5 separate regions of the Homo sapiens genome follow, and all the other regions are linked to region 2. The links are contacts of gene promoters, found by promoter capture Hi-C in blood cells and fetal thymus (Javierre and others, 2016). All regions are on one chromosome and are shown on one strand. The core of a region is centred on a gene start or on the middle of the fragment in contact, and the rest is flanking DNA. Distances in the headings are between cores, read along the strand shown. Region 1 overlaps DENND5A (DENN domain containing 5A). Region 2 holds the start of IPO7 (importin 7). Region 3 overlaps DENND5A (DENN domain containing 5A). Region 4 overlaps DENND5A (DENN domain containing 5A). Region 5 overlaps DENND5A (DENN domain containing 5A).

Region 1 (4,047 bases), core at 271-2,770, 220 kb after region 2:
ACTCGGGAGGCTGAGGCTGGAGAATTTGCTTGAACCGGGGAGGCGGAGGTTGCAGTGAGCCGAGATTGTGCCATTGCACTCCAGCCTGGGCAACAAGAGCGAAACTCCATCTCAAAAAAAAAAAAAAAAAAAAAAGAAGGAACTGGCCTGGCGCTGGTCATAATGATGTAATAGCATATATATATTATATATTTCACAATAAGAAGGTTAAAAACTAACAGTGGAAAGAAATATGCCAAAATATTAAGAGTTGTTGCTTCTGAAAAGTAGGATTGGGGTGATTTGTTTTCCTTTTCTTAGATTTTTATATATCACAAATTTATAGCATAGTTAAATCTTACTTTTGAACTTGGACTCAAAGTTCAGGCAGATATGGGTTCAAAGGCCAGATCTATTGCTACTTTGCTGTTTCATTTTGGACAATATATATATATATATAATTTAATAGAGTGCTATATTACGTATAGATTTTGGGCAAGTTACTTAAGAGAATTAAACTATACTTAGACTATAAATATACTATATTGTTTTATACTATGTTTAAATTTAGTATATTGATTACTGTATTTCTCAATTTCCGTATTGGTAAATTGGGAACAATAATAATAGTTACCTCAGATTGTTAGGAGGCTTAAATGAGATAATGAAATGCTAAGTACAATGCCTGACATAGTACTTAATAAAAACTGTGATTATCATTATGCAGTATGTGTTTTCTTGGTTATGATCTTACAATAAGCAGTTGAAAATTTTTATGTAAAATAAATTACCTCCTCAATTTTTGTCCCCTTGACAGTTATTTCAGATATGTTTCTAAGTTGTATGTATGCTCAAAGGTTTGTTTGGTAGGGTCATTTAAGCAGTGGGAATCAGACAATGTCAGAGATAAGCATGACTGAAGGGTTTATTTGTTTCTTGCATAAATGCAAAAACTGAATACAGAGTGATGAAATCACTGGCCAGGAGTCATAAAGATTGCTGTGTTCTTATCCTTTCCTTAACTACATATTTTTTTTTTTTTGAGACGGAGTCTCGCTCTGTTGCCCAGGCTGGAGTGCAGTGGCGCGATCTCAGCTTGCTGCAAGCTACGCTTCCTTGGTTGACGCCATTCTCCTGCTTCAGCCTCCTGAGTAGCTGGGACCACAGGCGCCCGCCACCACACCTGGCTAATTTTTTTGTATTTTTAATAGAGACGGGGTTTCACCGTGTTAGCCAGGATGGTCTCGATCTCCTGACCTTGTGATCCGCCCAACTAGGCCTCCCAGAGTGCTGGGATTACAGGTGTGAGCTACCACACCTGGCCTTTCTTAACTAAATTTTTAAAGCATGCACTCCCTTGTAACCTGACCTACATGGGTATAAATATATTCTGTGTCCTTGGGGCTAATTCATCCTGTCCTTCCCAGCCCAACAGATGTACTGTGCAGGCTGTCAGAACCCTCTCCGGTTGTATGTAATCCTGCTCACTGTGGTTATTTAATCCTGTTGACTGCTTCCTTGTAGACCAAGAGGATGCTGGTGGAAAAGATGGGCCGAGAAGCTGTGGAGCTAGGGCATGGGGAGGTGAACATCACAGGGGTGGAAGAGAACACCCTGATTGCCAGCCTTTGTGATCTCCTGGAAAGGATCTGGAGTCATGGACTACAAGTGAAACAGGTAATGTATGTCTTGCCTCTCATTGCTGAGCAAATTGTCTTCCTGTTTTCAGTTACTAGCTTTCCCACACTCTTTTTGTCCAGCTGACTGGCTTTGAAGAATGGTGCACAGTGCCCTGGAGTGAGATTTGAAATAAACAATTAAATAAATGTGATCCAAACTATTTTCCTTAAAGATAGGCTTTATAAATCTGTGTGTTTGTCAGACTTTTAAAAAGAGGCATCTTTCTTCCTGGGGGTAGAGCTGAAGGCCAACCTGATAGGTCCTGTTTGGCAGCTGGCCCTAGTCTAGAGATAGACCAGAAAGAGAGAAGTTGGAGCTCAGGAAGTACCAGTCATACACTAAAGGTTCTTCACTAATCATATATTCACAGTGGAAAAAAAGTCTGTCATTAACATTTCTTTTGTATGCAGATGGTTTAACTAAACATTTGAGAGAAGGCCTCAGGAAGTTGAGTAAGTTTGATTTTTCCACTTAATACCCAGAGAATTTCCTTATTTCAAAATACTCTGTTTTCAATTGGTAGTCAAGATAGATACCTTTTATTTTTATGTATTTTTAAATTTGAAAATAACTTGAAATTTTTTGAAAAGAAGTTTTATCATGGAAAAATTAGAAAATACATATTAGTATCCATTGGTATTTCTCAAGGGCCTACTATGTCAGGTACTGTTGTAGGCACTAGAAATACCTCAGTGAACAAAACAGACCAAGATCTCTTGCCTTCCTGTGTCATTCTAATGGGTATAGCAACAATCTTCCACACATGTTCTTCAGAGCATTCTTCTGTGTACATATGCCCATGCGTATATAGCTGTATATTTAAAAACCCAGTGGAACCACAATGAGATACTATTTCACATCCACTGGAGTAGTTAAAATAAGTAACAAGTGTTAAGGATGTGGAGAAATGGGAACTTTCATACATTGCTGATGGGAATGTAAAATGGTGCAGCCACTTTGGAAAACAGTCTGGCAGTTCCTCAAAATGTTAAACAGTTCTTATATGACCTAGCAAGCCCACTTCTAGATACATACTCAAGATAAGTGAAAACATATGTCTACACAAAAACTTGTATACAAATGTTCATAGCAGGCCAGGCGCAGTGGCTCACACCTGTAATCCCAGCACTTTGGGAGGCCAAGACAGGTGGATCACTTGAGGTCAGGAGTTTGAGACCAGCTTGATCAACATGGTGAAACCCCGTCTCTACCAAAAATACAAAATTAGCCAGGTGGTGGTGCATGCCTGTAATCCCAGCTGCTTGGGAGGCTGAGGCAGGAGGATCGCTTGAACCCAGGAGGCAGAGGTTGCAGTGAGCCAAGATTGCACCATTGCACTCCAGCCTAGGCAACAAGAGTGAAACTCTGTCTCAAAAAAAAAAAAAAAAGAAAAAAAAGTTCATAGCAGCATTAGTCATAATAGTGTCATCTTATGTGGCTATTATGACCCAGATATTTATCAGCTGATGAGTGGGTGACCTAAATTTGGTATAATACATTGGAATATTATTGAGCAATAAAGGGAATAAAGTACCTACATGTGGTACAACATGGATGAACTCTGAAAACATACTAAGTGAAAGAAGCCAGACACAAAAGGCCACAGATTGTGTGATCTCATTTATACAAAATGTCTAAAATAGGCAAATCCACAGACAGAAAGTAGATTAAGGGTTGCCAGAGGCTAGAGGAAGGGAGCAATGGGAAGTGACTACTAATGCATATGGAGTGTCTTTTGGGGGTGATGAAAATGTTCTAGAATTAGATAGTGGTGATGATTGCACAACTCTATACTAAAAACCAGATTTTTTTGTTCAGAAAATTGCATACTTTAAAAGTGTGAATTTTATGGTAATATGAATTATATCTCAATGAAGTGGTTTTTTAAAAAATCCAAATGAGTTAATACTGTATGTAATGCTTTGCAACTTGCTTTGTTTTTATCTCATATCTTTTCTATGTCCTTAACTAATTTTTAGATGATAGTATAGTAAGTGTTTAAGAGCTTGACTGTAAAACAGACAGATCTGGGTTTGAAGTATGATTTCCACTTAATAACTTTATGAAACTAAGCAAGTTACCTAGCTTCTCTAAGCCTGTTTCCTTATATGTATGATGGAATTTTATTTTATTTTATATTAATTTAATTTAATTTAATTTTTGAGACAGCATCTTGCTTTGTTGCCCAGGCTGGAGTGCACTAGCATGATCTCTGCTCACTGCAGCCTTGACCTCCTGTGCTCAACTGAGTCTCCCACCTCAGCTTGGAGACTCTTGGAGACTGAGACTACAGGTGTGTGGCACCATGCCCAGCTATTTTTTTTTTTTGTAGAGATGAGGTCTCCCTATGTTGTCCTGGCTGGTCTCAAACTCCTGGGCTCAAGTGAT
Region 2 (3,943 bases), core at 38-2,537:
TGGCAGATTCAGCAGCATGCTGAAGGACAGTTACTAACTGGCAGAAAAGTTACAGCAGCCCTTTTAAGAAGGATTTAAAATACTGATCATTAATACGTAAAAATGCAAAAGTTTAGAAACAAAGAATGACACTGGAGATAGTACAATAAATATTCATGCAATTAAGCTGTTTTCCAAGGAGCGGTCCCCACAAAATATGGGGGAAAAAAAAAACCTTCAGAGAATGCAATATCTGAACTGATAAGGAGCTCAGCATGTTCCAAGGCACTCAGACTTAACATTATCTCACCTGTCTGTCACAGCAACTCTGTGGCGTAATTTTATGAATGGGAAAAACTCAGGATCAAGAGGTTAAGCGACTGGCCCAAGGTCACTCAAGGAATCAATGGTGCAGCTATACCTAGAAGGGTGCACTTCACCTGATCCTTCCCACTACATAAGCCAGCTCCCCGACTGAAGCATTAGGACAGCGGAAAAGCAGGGATCAGACTCTGTGAGTGTCCCGCACTACTCCTATCCTGCCAAGGAGGCGCGGGCTTGCCTTTGAAAGCCTTCCCTAGCAACTCAGCCAGAGAGGAGGAAGTTGTGCCCGAGGCAGGCCACTGATCAGCCCAGCAAAGTGACAAGGATGACAGGCGCAGCCCCCAAAGGACCAGCCGGCATTCCCAGGAGCCCTTCCAAACCCTGCGACGGCGAGACTGGTCTCAGAAACATCTGAAAAACCTCCCAGTAAGTTTCGCCCCCTCCTGGACGTGAGGAACCAGCTGGGAATGAGCCAGAGGTCGGCCAGCCACCCGAGCCAGCCATGTGTCCAACCCGTCACGCCCGCCCCGCCTCAGCCGGCTCCTCATGCCTAGACCGCAGCCAGAGGCCCAGCTCAGGATCCGAAGCAAAGGCAGCCTTGGCTGCAGCCACCACCACCACACCACACCGAGGCGCCCCGGCGTGGAAGTCGCCGTCAGATGTCCGCCCCACCCTCCTGCTGGGACCCTCAACGACGTCGTCCGCGCCTCCGGCCAGGCCCCGGGGGCTCGGCCTGCCACTTCTGCCCACCCGCCTGCCCGCCGCCACCGCTAGCCGGGCGTCCTTACTTCATTGAGCTGGCGCTCCGCGGCCTCACGCAGGGCTGGGTCCATAGTGCCCCGCAGGGCCTCGATAATGGTGTTGGGGTCCATCGCAGCGCGGACTCGGTCAAACCCGGGGCTCGGGTGCTACTGGGCCAGGAATAGCGCCACTCACTGCGCACATGGACCCGCCGCGCTCCGCAGCGGCAACCGGCGCGAAAGGAAAGAGAAGCGCCAAGGCCCCGGATAGAACCTCTTCGCCTCGGCGTGGAGGCGGGAGATGCTCCGGCGACTTCCTGTGGGCGCGCCTGCGGAGCACTTTGGGAGATGTAGTCCACAAACACAGTCCGCAGCCCACGTGGCTGCCTGAGCTGTCGTTCCTACAGACAAGTCTTTCTGTTCAAAAACGAAAAATGTTCAAGTTCCACAAAAAGAAAAGCAAAACAATCAGTTACAAAAGGTTTCACATACTATATCCACAATGTTCATAAAGGGAGTCAGATACAGTGTGTGGTGCAATCGATTGCTAATGGCTGCGTGATTGAAGGAAACTTTCTGAAAAGCAATTTGAGATGTGTTTCTGATAGCCACTAAAATATTTAAACTGCCGGGCGCGGTGGTTCACGCCTGTAATCCCAGCACTTTGGGAGGCCAAGGCGGGCGGATCACGAGATCAGGAGATCGAGAGCATCCTGGCTAACACGGCGAAACCCCGTTTCTACTAAAAATACAAAAAATTAGCCGGGCGTGGTGGCACGCGCCTGTAGTCTCAGCTACTAGGGAGGCTGAGGCAGGAGAATCGCTTGAACCCGGGAAGCGGAGGTTGCAGTGAGCCGAGATCGTGCCATTGCACTCCAGCTTGGGCAACAAGAGCGAAACTCCGTCTCAAAAAAACAAAACGAAACGAAATGTTTAAACTCTGACCCAGTAATTCCACTTATGAGACTTTATCCTAAGGCAATAACACGGAAGATTAAATGAACTTTATGTGTGAAAGGTTTTTATCACATTACGTATTAGTAATTACCAAATACTGAAATCATGGCTTTTTATTGAGTATCCAAATTTTAGTTGGGACTTCATATAAATCACCTCTTAATGCAGAGTAAAAGCATAATCCCTATTAAAATACACCTTCCTGCCAGGCGCGGTGGCTCACACCTGTAATCCCAGCACTTTGGGAGGCCAAGGTGGGCGGATCACAAGGTCAGGAGATTGAGACCATCCTAGCTAACACGGTGAAGCCCCGTCTCTACTAAAAATACAAAAAATTAGCCGGGTGTGGTGGTGGGCGCCTGTAGTCCCAGCTACACTGAGGCAGGAGAATGGCGTGAATCCAGGAGGTGGAGCTTGCAGTGAGCCGAGATCATGCCACTGCACTCCAGCCTGGGTGACAGAGCGAGACTCTATCTCAAAAATAAATAAATAAATAAATAAAAATAAAAGACACCTTCCTAGCCAGGCGTAATCCTCCTGTTGAGGCAGGAGGATTGCTTGAGACCAGAAGTTCAAGGTGACAGCCTGTTAAGATCGTGCCTATGAGTAGCCACTACGCTACAGCCTGGGCTACATAGCGAGACCCCATCTCTAAAAAAAGAGGGAGGTGGGGGAGAAAGAAAGAAAGAAAAAGTCCTCTTTTATAACAGCCAAGAAAAAGTTTGTTTTAGAAAGGTTAAATAACTTACCCAAGGTCACGTAGTAAGAGGTTCAACTAAGATTTCAAACCTAAGATCTTTGTTTTCAAACTTTCCATTGTTTCCACTAAATCACTCTGCCTCTGAAGAGAAATGTTGAACAATATAGGACTGGTTAAGCAAATAGCAAGAATCCAGTAAATTAAATATTTCACAGCCATTAAAAAATATAACAAAAAAGTATTTATGGAAGGATATAGCTTTGTAACATGGACAAAGACTGAAAAGCAAGGTTAGCAAATGAAAATAATTTATTTTCTATTAACAGGATGGTGAGATTTGGAGTAATTTCCTTTCATATCTGTTATTATTGTAACAAAGTTATATAAACAGATATACTTAAAATTAATTATAAGCCTTCAAATACAATGTGTTAAATGATCACTTATTGTTTTTAATTTACAAAAAAAAGAGAAGGAAAGGCTCACGAAAGCCTTTCCCTGAAGCGGTGGGTTTTGCAATGTTACTACCTTGTATATGCCAGCCACTGTGCCTGGAAGTACTGGAAGTAAGACAGAATTATTCCTAATTTAGGCCGGGCATGGTGGCTCACAACCGTAACCACAGCAATTTGAGAGGCTGAGGTGGGCGGGATCACCTGAGGTCAAGAGTTCGAGACCAGCCTGGCCAACATGGCAAAACCCCATCTCTACTAAAAATACAAAAATTGCCTGGCCCGGTGGCTCACGCCTGTAATCCCAGCACTTTGGGAGGCCAAGGCGGGCGGATTACGAGGTCAGGAGATCGAGATCATCCTGGCTAACACAGTGAAACCCTCTCTCTACTAAAAATACAAAAAAGACCGGGCGCGGTGGCTCACGCCTGTAATCCCAGCACTTTGGGAGGCCGAGGCGGGCGGATCACAAGGTCAGGAGATCGAAACCATCCTGACTAACATGGTGAAACCTTGTCTCTACTGAAAATACAAAAAATTAGCCGAGCGCGGTAGCGGGCGCCTGTAGTCCCAGCTGCTCGGGAGGCTGAGGCAGGAGAATGGCGCGAACCCGAGAGGCGGAGCTTGCAGTGAGCCAAGATCGCGCCACTGCACTCCAGCCTGGCGGACAGAGCCAGACTCCGTCTCAAAAAAAATAAAAAATAAAAAATAAAATAAATAAATAAATAAAAATAAAAATACAAAAAAATTAGCCGGGCGTGGTGGCCGGTGCCTGTAGTCCCAGCTACTCG
Region 3 (4,351 bases), core at 421-2,920, 190 kb after region 2:
TTTGCAGGCAAAGCTCACATAAGCTCCTTATAGGATGTTCTGCAGATGTATCTTAGTGAGAACTGAGCATGTTTTTGCTTCCATGCTGAATGGAGACCCAGGACCACTGTCTTTCTTTTTGTTCAGTTCTCCTACCCCCTTTCTTAAGAGGATCTACTTAACATTCTGTGGTAGTATTTGGAGCAAGATGTCATTAATTATTTTTGTTGTATTTCCATATTAGATTTTATTATGAGCAAGGACCTGTGTGTGTAGGTTTATTTCAATTTGTGGTCCACAAGGGTCTCTTGGTTGTCTCTTGGACACCCTCAAGGGAATCACATTGAGCATACCCTAGCTGAAGTTTATCGTGATCGTTTCTAAATAAGAAATTGTACTGAAAGTTTTAACTTACTGTTTGGAAAGCAAGTGCCTTGTTTTTGACTGATTTGTGTGTGTGCTTTTTTTGTTGTTGTTGACCCAGATTACCAGAGACTGATGACTGTGGCGGAGACGATTACAGCTCTCATGTTTCCTTTCCAGTGGCAGCATGTCTATGTCCCTATTCTCCCAGCTTCTCTCCTGCATTTCTTAGATGCTCCTGTTCCATACCTGATGGGTTTGCATTCCAATGGCCTGGATGACCGGTCAAAGCTGGAGCTGCCTCAAGAGGTGAGATCTTGAGTGTTGGTGCCTCTGGCCCCAATCCAGGATTGGGGAGAGAAGGGCTTTGGGATGAACCCAGCATGCATGATGTTACCAAGTTTATTTTCTTCTATTTTGGTGATTATGAATAACTTCTCAGGAAAAAAGTAAAAACAATGAATATTTAGTTCAATTTATGTCATCCCAGAGACACTTATTATCTTTATCAACTGACATATGTACATTGTAATTTCTGTATTTATGCTATTGTTTTTGTTTTGTTTTGCTTTTTAAGAGACAAGGTCTTGCTGTGTTACCCAGGCTGGGTGCAGTAGCATGATCGTAGCTTACTGTAGCCTTGAACTCCTGGGCTCAAGTGAGCCTCCTGACTCAGCCTCCTGAGTAGTTGGGACTAAAGGAGTGTGCCACGATGCCCAGCTAATTGTTTTTTTATGTCTTGTAGATGCAGGGTCTCACCATGTTGCCCAGGCTGGTCTCGAACTCCTGGGCTCAAGTAATCCTCCTGCCTTGGCTTCCCAAAGTGTTGGGATTATAGGCATGAGCCACTGTGCCTGGCTAAGAAAAGAATTGATTTAAAATAATGTATTTCCTATTCCATTCTAAAGTAGATTTAAAGCATGATTAGAAATAAGATTTTTTATTTTTAATTTTTTTAGAATTACCAGCAGAACTGGTATGTTACTTTGTGGCTGTTGTGAAACTACCTGCAGGGAAGTGCTTTCCTACTTTGAATTTCTTAGTCATTAGAAAGGCCTGGGAAGAAGACTTTGGAGTATACATACACTGGTGTCACCATGACTCTTCGTTTCCTCCTTCCACCACCATTTTTTTGGGGGTAGAGTTTTTTTTTTGTTTTTTTTTGTTTTTTTTTTGAGACGAAGTCTCGCACTGTCACCCAGGCTGGAGTGCAGTGGCACAATCTTGGCTGACTGCAACCTCTGCCTTCCAGGTTCAAGTGATTCTCCTGCTTCAGTCTCCCAAGTAGCTGTGATTACAGGTGCCCACCACCACACCCGGCTAAATTTTTGTATTTTTAGTAGAGACGGGGTTTCACTATGTTGGCCAGGCTGGTCTCGAACGCCTGACCTCATGATCCACCCGCCTTGGCCTCCCAAAGTGCTGGGATTACAGGCGTGAGCCACCGCGCCCGGCCGGGGGTAGAGATTTTTGTATATAAGTGAGGAATATAAGTGAGGGGCCCCAAGAAGAGAGCATTCTCATGGAACTGGATCTGGGCAGCACTGTGTCACTGGTCATGACTGGGCAGCATCTTTGATGAATACCCTGATAATTAGACCATGTCTGTGATATTTAAATTATAGTCAAATGCATCTCTGCTCTTTTCTCTCTTCTTTAGTTTTAGAATCAAAATGTCTTCCTTGTCTTCCTTGTAGCTTCTTCCATTTCTGCCCTTTTTTCTTCTTTGACTTTATAGAGCGTTGTGCTCTTTGGGGTGGAACAAGATTAATTAAGGAAAAAAAATCTAAATGATGGATAAAATCATTGAGTTGAGATAATATTGGGGTTTTTTGTGTACTTGCTTACTGTACCATACATAAACCTGAAGAGTCGACTGGAGAAAGAAGAGCTTTTTGTTGTTTGCTTTAAACAAATGTCTATTTAATATTGATACAACTTAGTCAACCTAATTATGATTCTGTAAAGTCACAAAAAGAACAATAACAAAAAATTGTTGAAGGTGGAAGGCCAAAGAGGCAAGCTATGTGCATACTTTAATACATAGGCCACTAAGCAAGAAGCCAGATTTCTCAGTTTTATTTTCCTCTTTGGCATCAGCTTTCTTTATACTTGGGGCAAATTCTGATCTCTCTAGGATTTTTCAACGTTGTTCCCTATGTGCTTCATGTATACGGCTATACAAAGGGACCTCTGAGGGATCAACAGATTTCTTAATGGGACTGTTTAAGAAACCATGGGTTGTTTAAGAAACCCAAAAGTTGGCCGGGTGCGGTGGCTCACGCCTATAATCCCATCACTTTGGGAGGCCGAGGCGGGCAGATCACCTGAAGTCAGGAGTTCGAGACCAGTCTGGTCAACATGGTGAAACTCCATCTCTACTAAAAATACAAAAAAATTAGCTGGGCATGGTGGTGCACGCCTGTAGTCCCAGCTACGTGGGAGGCTGAGGCAGGAGAATTGTTGAAGCCCGGAGCCAGAGGTTGCAGTGAGCCGAGATCACGCCACTGCACTCCAACCTGGGTGGATCGCGCCACTGCACTCCAGCCTGGGTGACAGTGTGAGACTCCACCTCAAAAAAAAAACAGAAAAGAAACCCAAAAGTTCCCTCTGTTCTGGGCTATTGGAGCCTCCATGTTGCTGTATTCCCCATCCCTGCTATAAACTTTGTATCTGAGCTTCTGGCTCCCCTGTAGTCTGCTTGGGAAGGAGTGGTGACAGTGGAACAGTAGAATTAACTGTGTGTGCTTCATAAGTGGTTCTTGGGTTTCAGAGTCCTAGTTCATCCACACCTGTCTTCTGAAGGTCACACATTTGTGGGAGCAGTTATATAGCTGGATATTTTCTACCTTGATTTTTAGCAGATAAGCTCTGGGGTATCTGAGCCTATGTATTTCCCGTGGAAAACCTTAGACTAGGGGAAGAGAGCTGGCTTTGAAAGACGACTTTGGGGTGTCTCAGAAATGACATGTTCATAGTAAAAAATGCTAACAGTGCACAAAAGCATAAACAATAAAATTAAAATTACCTCAAATTTTACCACCCAGAGATAACTACTTTTGATATTTTGATGCACATCTTTAAAGTATGTGGTATCTTTTAACTACAGTCTTAGAAGGAAGCTTTGGGGCAGTGTATTAGTCCATTTTTACACTGCTGAGAAAGACATACCTGAGACCGGGCAGTTTACAAAAGAAAGAGGTTTAATGGACTTAGAGTTCCATGTGGCTGGGAAAGCCTCACAATCATGGTGGAAGGCAAGGAGGAGCAAGTCACGTCTTACATGGATGGCAGCAGGCAAAGAGAGAGCTTGTGCAGGGAAACTCCCCCTTATGAAACCATCAGATCTTGTGAGACTTATTCACTATCACGAGAACAGCATGGGAAAGACCTGCCCCCATGATTCAACTACCCCCTACTGGGTACCTCACACAACACATGGGAATTTAAGATGAGATTTGGGTGGGGACACAGCCAAACCGTATCACTCTGCCCTGGCCCCTTCCAAATCTTATGCCCTCACATTTTATAACCAATCATGCCTCCCAACAGTCCCCCAAAATCTTATTTCAGCATTAACTCAAAAGTCCATAGTCTAAAGTCTCATCTGAGACAAGACAAGTCCTTTCCTTATAAGCCTGTAAAATCAAAAGCAAGTTAGTTACTTCCTAGATACAATGAGGGTACAGGCATTAGATAAATATTGCCATTCCAAATGAGAGAAATTGGCCAAAAACAAAGAGCTGCAGGCCCCATGCAAGTCTGAAATCCAGCGGGGCAGTCAAATCTTAAAGTTCCAAAATGATCTCCTTTGACTCCGTGTCTCACGTCCAGGTCACACTGATGCAAGAGGTGGATTCCCTGGCTGGGCACAGTGGCTCACGCCTGTAATCCCAGCACTTTGGGAGGCCGAGGCAGGTGGATCACCTGAGGTCGGGAGTTCAAGACCAGCCTGACCAACGTGGAGATACGCCATCTCTACTTAAAACACAAAATTGGCTGGGCATGG
Region 4 (3,922 bases), core at 332-2,831, 240 kb after region 2:
ATCTAGGTTTGTATGAGAACCCTATAAAGTTCGCATGGTGACGAAACTGTCTAATGACACATTTCTCAGACTGTATCCCTGTCATTAAGCAACACGTGACTTATGTGTGTGGTGATCTGTCGGGGTAGGGATGACAACGTGTATGTAACTCGGGGCAGAGGGGCCCCATTTTGAAAGGAAAGATCAAAATCACACCACTGGGGAAGTTTGAAGCAGAGTATATCTAGTTATTCCTTCATTAGACATTTAAATGGCCTTATGGAAGTTGGTAGGAAGACAGCTGAATAAAACGTGGCCCCTTACCATTTATTTATTTATTTATTTATTTATTTTGAGATGGAGTTTCGCTCTTGTTGCCCAGGCTGGAGTGCAATGGTGTGATCTCGGCTCACCACAACCTCCGCCTCCTGGGTTCAAGTGAGTCTCCTGCCTCAGCCTCCCGAGTAGCTGGGATTACAGGCATGCGCCATCACGCCTGGCTAGTTTTGTATTGTTAGTAGAGACGGGGTTTCTCCATGTTGGTCAGGCTGGTCTTGAACTCCTGACCTCAGGTGATCTGCCTTCCTTGGCCTCCCAAAGTGCTGAAATTACAGGCGTGAGCCACCATGCCTGGCCAACATTTAGAAGCTTACTTGTCCTAATTAAATACAGAGCATGGAAGAAGGTTTTGAGGGTCCAAAAATGAAGTGTACATTCATACAATATGCTGAAAAGGTAGAGGAGAAAGATCAGAGAAGACTTCAGGGAGGAGTTGGTATTTAAGTGAGCCTTTAATGGAAGGAAATAACAGAACGTGGCAAGGGCAGTAATAGGAAACACAGTTGAAAGGAGGGTAGGGCCCCTGAGCTGGGACAGAGAAAGATTCTTTTCATATTAGTACAAAGTTGTTTCATCAGGGGACTGAAGTAATATTAATCTGATATTATGGGTGGTATGCATTAGAGTGGACATGATTATTAGGGGCTATTCCTGTAGGTCAGGTGAGAGAGCATGAAGCTCAAATAAACTTAAGGCAGTTTATTCAGGCTGCATAAAGGGAGAGAATTGGCATAGTGGTTAAAAACAGACTCCAGAACCGCATTCACTAGGTTCAGATCTCAAGTTATCCATTTACTAGCCATGTGATCTTGGACAAGCTACTTAACTTCCATCTACCCTACTTTCTTCATCTATAAAGTGGGGATAATAATAGTACCTACCTCATATCACAGGGTTATCATGAAGATTAAATCTCTTATGTCAGTGCCAGCACATGCTGAGTGTTATGTGAGGTTAGTGCTTATTATTATTCCTGGTGGTGGTAGCTGTGGGAGGAGAGAAGCTCTGGGAGACACCAGTGGTGGGGCTGACTAGGCAGGGCGAGGGAGGCAGGGGAGGAGGAGGCTTGGAGGCTCATGACAGGGCTGATTTGGGTCAGGTTTGTTTGGTGTCCTGGAGCTGAAAGACCTCTTTGCCAGTCCCTGTTTGGGAAAGGGGGGTGTGGGGGGCTGTCAGCTTCTCCAGCTTCAGACTTAGTTCATGGTTTCCCCCTTGGCCTTGCACTAACGCTCTCTCTTCCTTTTCCTTTGCCCCTCTGACCTGCCTGGACTGCTCCCGCTCTGCCAGAGATCACCTCCTACACCACTGGATTGCCCTGCTGGCTGACTGCCCCATCACTGCACACATGTATGAGGATGTGGCACTGATCAAAGACCATACACTTGTCAATTCCTTGATTCGTGTGCTGCAGACATTGCAGGAGTTCAACATCACGCTGGAGACGTCCCTTGTCAAGGGCATCGACATCTGACCTCCCAGCACCAGCCAGCAGCAGGACTGAGAAAGACTCACCCTGCAGCTCTGACCTTTTTTCCCAAAGGGACTTAAGCGATTGTGCAGGAGTAGGAGACAAAATGTACACTCACTGTAAAAAGAAAACTAGAGGATTTTTGGAATAAATAATCTATTTTAGAGTTTATTTGCTGATTTGCTTTTTACACACTTTCATGTGAAAGAGTGATAGGGAGAGGGAGCGAGGCTGGTGCCGCTTATTTTGAAGCTGGTGCCCTCCCTCGCCGTGGCCACATGCTGGAAGCCTGAGGCCTCCCTGGACTGAGCCTGTGGCACTGCGTGCGGGACAGTTATGTTTCCTTGCCCCGTCGCATTAATGAGGCCCTTCCACATCATTTTTAAACTAATGTTTTTCTATATTAACATTATTATGGATATTTGGCTTTCATAGGCCACACACAGGTGTGCTGCGCGGGAAGCCCCATGCTCCAATCAAAGGGATTTTTAGTAGTGCCTCTAAGCAAGCACCGATGAGTCAGTCCCACGTATTTTCTTTTTTGTCAGTATTGTTTGGGAAGGAGACATGCCGGGATGTGTCATCGTGCCAAATACCACATTTCCTGTTGGCACAGTTTCACAGAAGTAAACATAAGCATGTTTTAACAGGTTTTTCTTTTCTTTTTTCTTTTTTAAAATGTTTTATTTATTTAACCCGCCATTGTGTGTTTTTAAGTATTTTCTTTTTTTAAGGAAAGGAAAAGCTTGTCACAATCTAACTGGCTATGTTATTATTATTAAATTTATGTTTTGCAACTTAGAAACCAGCTACAGTATGGCCCACTTAATAAAACACCTGAAACAAAAACTGCATGGATCACTGATTTTTATGGAGGTTTATGAGCAGTGGGTGGCTGCGGGTGCAGTTGGGTCCATCTGTGAGGATGGTCTTGTGGCATCACCTCTCTTTACCAGCAGGCTCGGGGTTGTGGCCTGCCCAGGATGCCCCTGAGGGCCTGGGGTCTCCTGGGTCCTTCTGCCCGCAGTGCTAGGAGCCTTCCTAGCTGTTATGTGGCTGATTCACATGGATGCAGACAGGGTTCTTTCCCCACTCCACAGAGGAGGAGACTGAGACACAGGAGGGAAAAGACCCGGCCAGGGGTGCAGAGGTTGTCACTTGACTGAGACAGGATGGGCCCTTTCTTGAGAGGGTAAGGGAGACCAGGTGTGGGAAGCTGGGGGTCGGGGGAAGCTCTTGAAAGAAAGGTTTGCTTTCCTGGGGATGGCAGGTGGGAGACCTTTATGAGAGGTCCAGCTTCGTTCATTTTTATTCTTCAGGCTGCTTTGGCAGGAAGCTCCAGAAGAAGTGTAACGTGATCAAGTCAGGCACCTCAGACCAATCAGTGCCCTCTTTTATGCTTTCCTGGTTTGCATGCATTTTCCCTTTGCCTGGAATGCCTCCCCTTCACCCACTTTGTGTTTGTTGTACAGGGTTTACTTTAGCAGTCACCTGCTGTGAAGTGTCCCCAATCTCCCTAGGCAGTTAATCATTCCATCCTTGTGCTCCTTCATTTTCTTAGATGCTGGCATCTCCTCTCTGGATTGTCATTGCCTGCTTTCGTGTCAGGCTCAGCCCTTGCACCGTGAGCTCCCAGAGGGAAAAGGGGGATCTCTTGCCTGTCTCCATCCCCTGGGCCTGGCAGGTGGTAAATGCTTCTGAAGAGATGAGGAGAGGGCCCAGAGAGCTGCAGCGCAGCGTCCTGCCTGCAGAGGGGGTGAGAGGCCACACTGCAGCCGTCTGCCTGGAGCCCACGGACAGAGCTTTAGTTCTCTCGGAGAAGGCCGAGGAAAGGGGAAGGAAGGTAGGCAGTACCTCTGGAGCAGGAAGTGGGATTCTTGGCTGGGCAAGAAGGGCAGCATGGAACTCAGCTGTATGTGTTTATATTGTGGGCCTAGGCCTGAGCTTACCTTAAGGCAGGTGCTGGGACCAACTATTTCCTTGCTCTTTGTAACAGCTGATCCTACTCACTTTCTACTGTGTTTTGTTTTGTAATCTTCTGCAAATCTGTTTTGGAATGATGTGTGATATAAGAGAACAGACCTGTTTAGTAGCTCAAGATTTCAAGGACATTTGAGTCAACTGCGTTCTTCCGTG
Region 5 (4,270 bases), core at 1,569-4,068, 170 kb after region 2:
CAACACTGTGAAACCTCATCTCTACTAAAAATATAAAAAATTAGCCGGGCGTGGTGGCATGCACCTGTAGTTCCAGCTATTTGGGAGGCTGAGTCAGGAGAATTACTTGAACCTGGGAGGCAGAGGTTGCAGTGAGCCAAGATCGCACCACTGTACTCCGGCCTGGGTGACAGAGCAAGACTCCATCTTAAAAAAAAGAAAACAACAACAACAACAACAAAATTCTCAATTAGTTGAAGACATTATTGGCAATTATAACTTCTGATTTCCTTGTAATAACTAGAAATATACATGGGGTTGGCTGGGCGCGGTGGCTCACGCCTGTAATCCCAGCAGTTTGGGAGGCCGAGGCAGACCGATTGCCTGAGGTCAGGAGTTCAAGACCAGCCTGGCTAACATGGTGAAACCCCATCTCTACTAAAAATACAAAAATTAGCCAGGCCAGGCGCAGTTGCTCATGCCTGTAATGCCAGCACTGAATGGGTTGGGACCTATTCAGTGTTTTTTTTGTTGCTGTTGTTTGTTTGTTTGTTTGAGATGGAGTCTTGCTCTGTCATCCAGGCTGGAGTGAGGTGGCGCTATCTCGGCTCACTACAACCTCTGCCTCCCAGGTTCAAGAGATTCTTCTGCCTCAGCCTCCTGAGTAGCTGAGACTACAGGCACTCGCCACCATGCCCGGCTAATTTTTGTATTTTTAGTAGAGACAGGGTTTCACCATGTTGGCCAGGCTGGTCTTGAACTCCTGACTTCAGGTGATCCACCTGCCTTGGCCTCCCAAAGTGCTAGGATTACAGGCGTGAGCCACCGTGTCCAGCCGATTGAATGTTTTAATCTCTGATTCTGATACCAAAGTTTTTTGTTTTTTGGGTTTGTATTCTTTTTTTAGACAGTGTCTTGCTCTCTCATCCAGGTTGGAGCTCAATGGCGCCATCTCGGCTCACGGCAACCTCTGCCTCCTGGGCTCAAGCAGTCCTCCCACCTCAGCCTCCCAAGTAGCTGAGTCTACAGGCACCCGCCACTATGCCTGGCTAATTTATGTGTGTGTGTGTACACACACACACTTTTTTTTTTTGAGACAGAGTCTCGCTTTGTCGCCCAAGCTGGAGTGCAGTGGTGCGATCTCAGCTTACTGCAACCTCTGCCTCCCAGGTTCAAGCAATTCTCGTACCTCAGCCTCCCCAGTAGCTGGGATTACAGGTACCCACCACCATGCCTGGCTAATTTTTTTATTTTTAGAAGAGACTGGGTTTTGCCATGTTAGCCAGGCTGGTCTGGAACTCCTGACCTCAGGTAATCTAACCCCCTCAGCCTCCCAAAGTGCTGGGATTATAGGTGTGAGCCACCTGTGCCCGGCCGGTATTTTCATTCATATTTTTTTCCATGTTGAATTATTATTATTATTATTATTATTATTTTTGAGACAGAGTTTCGCTCTTGTTGCCTATACTGGAGTGCAATGGCATGATCTTGGCTCACTGCAACTTCCACCTCCTGGGTTCAAGTGATTCTCCTGCCTCAGCTTCCCAAGTAGCTGGGATTACGGGCATGTGCCACCACGCCCGGCTAATTTTGTATTTTTAGTAGAGACAGGGTTTCTCCATGTTGGTCAGACTGGTCTTGAACTCCTGACCTCAGGTGATCTGCCCGCGTCGGCCTCCCAAAGTGTTGGGATTACAGGCATGAGCCACTGTGCCTGGCCCGAATTATTTTTAAATATCATACATTGCAAGCAAACTATCATTTTTTGCAATTTATAAGAAAGTTATGCCACAGGCGTTTAAGCACATCTATTTTTTTTGCTTTTAGTGTTCTTTGTCCTGCTTTAATTTTTTAGTATGATTTTTCTTATATACCACCTTGTTTTTTGACATAGGTGGGACATAAATCACAAATTGAAAAAACAAAACAAAACCAATCTCTCTTCAGAATGTTTTGAGGAGTAAGGTATTAAGCTTCATTTGAATCAAATTCCCTGGGCTTCTAGAGTGCTTTAACTGAGCCCCTTTCCTTTCTTTCTAAATGATGATATCCAATCAGAAAAAATGTGTTAATCTACTGCATTACTCCACATTCTTTGTCTCTGAGATTTGCAACATCTGAAAAATTTCTTTTTGTTATAGAAGTCTGTTGTGGTTTGTCCCTTGTGCAAGACCTGTAATGGACACCTTAAAGCAGTGGCTTAAAGTATTTTTTGGCTCACAGATCCCTTGGAAAATATGATGCAAGCTGTGGATTCTTGCCTGAGCCCCATCAATCTGGATTATTTGAGGTGTTGGCCTGCCAGGCCTATTGCACTAAAATCTTGGGATGTCCCCTCACCTTATCTTGGAGTTATCCTCTGTCACTTTCTCGTGATGGCTCCAGTTTCCTCCATCCCATATGTAAGTCGTTTTTTTTTGTTAATTCTCGTTTTGGCAGAGCATATGCTTCCTGAGAAAGGATTCATAGAAAATACATTCTTTTTTTGAGATTACATGTTTGAAATTTCTTTCTTTTACTCTCTTATTATTTGGCTGAGTATATAATTCTAACTGGAAATAATTTTCCCACAGAATTTTGAGGACATTGCCTCATTGTCTGCTAGATTCCAGTGTTGCTATTGAGAAATCCAGTGCTATTCAGATATCTTTCCTTGGTAAATTTGTTTCTTCCTGGAAACATCTAGAATTTTCTCATTGTCCCTGGCATTCTGAAATTACATCATGACGTGTCTTGGTGTGGGTCTGTTTTCATCCATTGTGCTAGATCCTTGAAGAGCACTTTCAGTTTGGAAGTTCATGCCTGTCATTTCTGGGAAACTTTATTATTTTGTTGATAATTTCCTCCCCTTTATTTTTTCTCTTCGCTTTTTATGGTATACTTTTATTTGGGTTTTAGACCTCTTGGATGGACTCTAATTTTATTATTTCTTAAATAAATAAATAAATTTATTTCATTTATTTGTTTATTTATTTTTTTGAGATGGAGTTTCATTCTTGTTGCCCAGGCTGGAGTGCAGTGGCGCGATCTTGGCTTACTGCAACCTCCACCTCCCGGGTTCAAGCGATTCTCCTGCCTCAGCCTCCCAAGTAGCTGGGATTACAGGCATGTGCCACTACGCCTGGCTAATTTTTATTTTTTTAGTAGAGGTGGGGTTTCACCATGTTGGCTAGCTTGGTCTTGCACTCCTGACCTCAGGTGATCCACCTGTCTCAGCCTCCTGAAGTGCTGGGATTACAGGCGTGAGCCACCACGCCGGCCCAATACATTTATTTTTGAGACAAAGTTTCACTCTGTCACCCAGCTGGAGTGCAGTGACACGATCACAGCTCACTCTAACCTTCATCTCCCGGGCTCTAGCGATCTTCCCACCTCAGCCTACTACAGGCACACTCCACCACACCCAGCTAATTTTTGTATTTTTAGTAGACAGGATTTCGCCATGTTGCACAGACTGGTCTCAAACTCCTGGGCTTAAGTGATCCACTCCCCTCGGCCTCCCAAAGAGCTGGGAGCCACTGCATCCCGCCTAAGCATGAGCTGAGCCTAAGCATGAGCCACTGTACCCAGACTAATTTTATTACTATTTTTTCTCTAATTTTATTTATTTTGTCCTACTTCTGAGGATATTTCCTCAAATCTATTTGCTAACTCTTCTGTTGAGTTTTAAATTTTTCTGACACCATTTTAATTTCCACAAGCTTGTTTTTTTTTTGTTTATTTTTTTGAGACGGGGTCTTGCTCTGTCACCCAGCCTGGAGTGCAGTGGTGCTATCTCAGCTCACTGCAGCCTCTGCCTCCTGAGCTCATGCAGTCCTCCTGCCTCAGCCTCCTGAGTAGCTGAGACTACTGGTGGGCACCACCATGCCTGGCTAATCTTTTAATTATTATTTTGTACAGATGGGGTCTTGCCATGTTGCCCAGGTTGGTCTTGAACTCCTGGACTCAAACAATCTCTACCCACCTTGGTGCTGAGATTACAGGCATGAGCCACTGCCCAGCCTTGTTTTATTTTCTGAATATTCTTTTAAAACAACAGTCTATTCTTGTTTTATGTATACAATGTCATCTTTTATCTCTGCATATCTTTTATCTGTGATAATAATTTTTGTGTGTGGGAAAAGATACTTTGTTGGAAATGACACATGCTTTGACAGTAGGAGACTGTATTTTACTAGCATGCCAAATTTCTTTTGTTGTTTGTCCTTTTATTTTTTAAATCACTTTATGAAGATATACTTTACATAGCCTAGTTTACCTGCTTACAGTATACAATTTCTGTTTTTTAATG

What was found. The method cuts DNA at HindIII sites, captures the fragments that hold promoters and counts their contacts. A CHiCAGO score of 5 or more calls a contact.
Region 1: a contact is called between a fragment that was not itself captured here and the fragment with the promoter of IPO7 in region 2, in 6 of 17 cell types (neutrophils, naive CD8 T cells, activated CD4 T cells and 3 more). The highest score is 8.5, in neutrophils.
Region 3: a fragment that was not itself captured here is called in contact with the fragment with the promoter of IPO7 in region 2 in 2 of 17 cell types (non-activated CD4 T cells and naive CD8 T cells); the score reaches 5.6 in non-activated CD4 T cells.
Region 4: a fragment that was not itself captured here is called in contact with the fragment with the promoter of IPO7 in region 2 in 1 of 17 cell types (M1 macrophages); the score reaches 5.0 in M1 macrophages.
Region 5: a fragment that was not itself captured here is called in contact with the fragment with the promoter of IPO7 in region 2 in 2 of 17 cell types (activated CD4 T cells and naive CD8 T cells); the score reaches 5.5 in activated CD4 T cells.

Annotation. Positions count from the first base shown.
Region 1 is chr11:9,158,322-9,162,368 of GRCh38, reverse strand. It overlaps DENND5A (DENN domain containing 5A), which reads left to right. Exons shown (of 23, transcript NM_015213.4): 12 at 1,504-1,656. Among named protein-coding and RNA genes, the nearest start is that of SCUBE2, 69 kb to the right of the region's middle. The HindIII fragment of the contact is 7,618 bases long and covers 1-4,047 here.
Region 2 is chr11:9,381,996-9,385,938 of GRCh38, reverse strand. IPO7 (importin 7) reads right to left here and starts at 1,287. Exons shown (of 25, transcript NM_006391.3): 1 at 1,092-1,287. The coding sequence starts at 1,175. RefSeq lists an enhancer at 770-1,285. The HindIII fragment of the contact is 13,114 bases long and covers 1-3,943 here.
Region 3 is chr11:9,189,794-9,194,144 of GRCh38, reverse strand. DENND5A (DENN domain containing 5A) reads left to right here. Exons shown (of 23, transcript NM_015213.4): 5 at 464-651. Among named protein-coding and RNA genes, the nearest start is that of DENND5A, 73 kb to the left of the region's middle. The HindIII fragment of the contact is 3,592 bases long and covers 1-3,466 here.
Region 4 is chr11:9,137,538-9,141,459 of GRCh38, reverse strand. It overlaps DENND5A (DENN domain containing 5A), which reads left to right. Exons shown (of 23, transcript NM_015213.4): 23 at 1,606-2,635. The coding sequence ends at 1,789. Among named protein-coding and RNA genes, the nearest start is that of SCUBE2, 48 kb to the right of the region's middle. RefSeq lists enhancers at 2,144-2,438, 3,252-3,441. The HindIII fragment of the contact is 1,904 bases long and covers 630-2,533 here.
Region 5 is chr11:9,217,695-9,221,964 of GRCh38, reverse strand. All of the region lies in intron 1 of DENND5A (DENN domain containing 5A), which reads left to right. Among named protein-coding and RNA genes, the nearest start is that of DENND5A, 46 kb to the left of the region's middle. The HindIII fragment of the contact is 1,728 bases long and covers 1,955-3,682 here.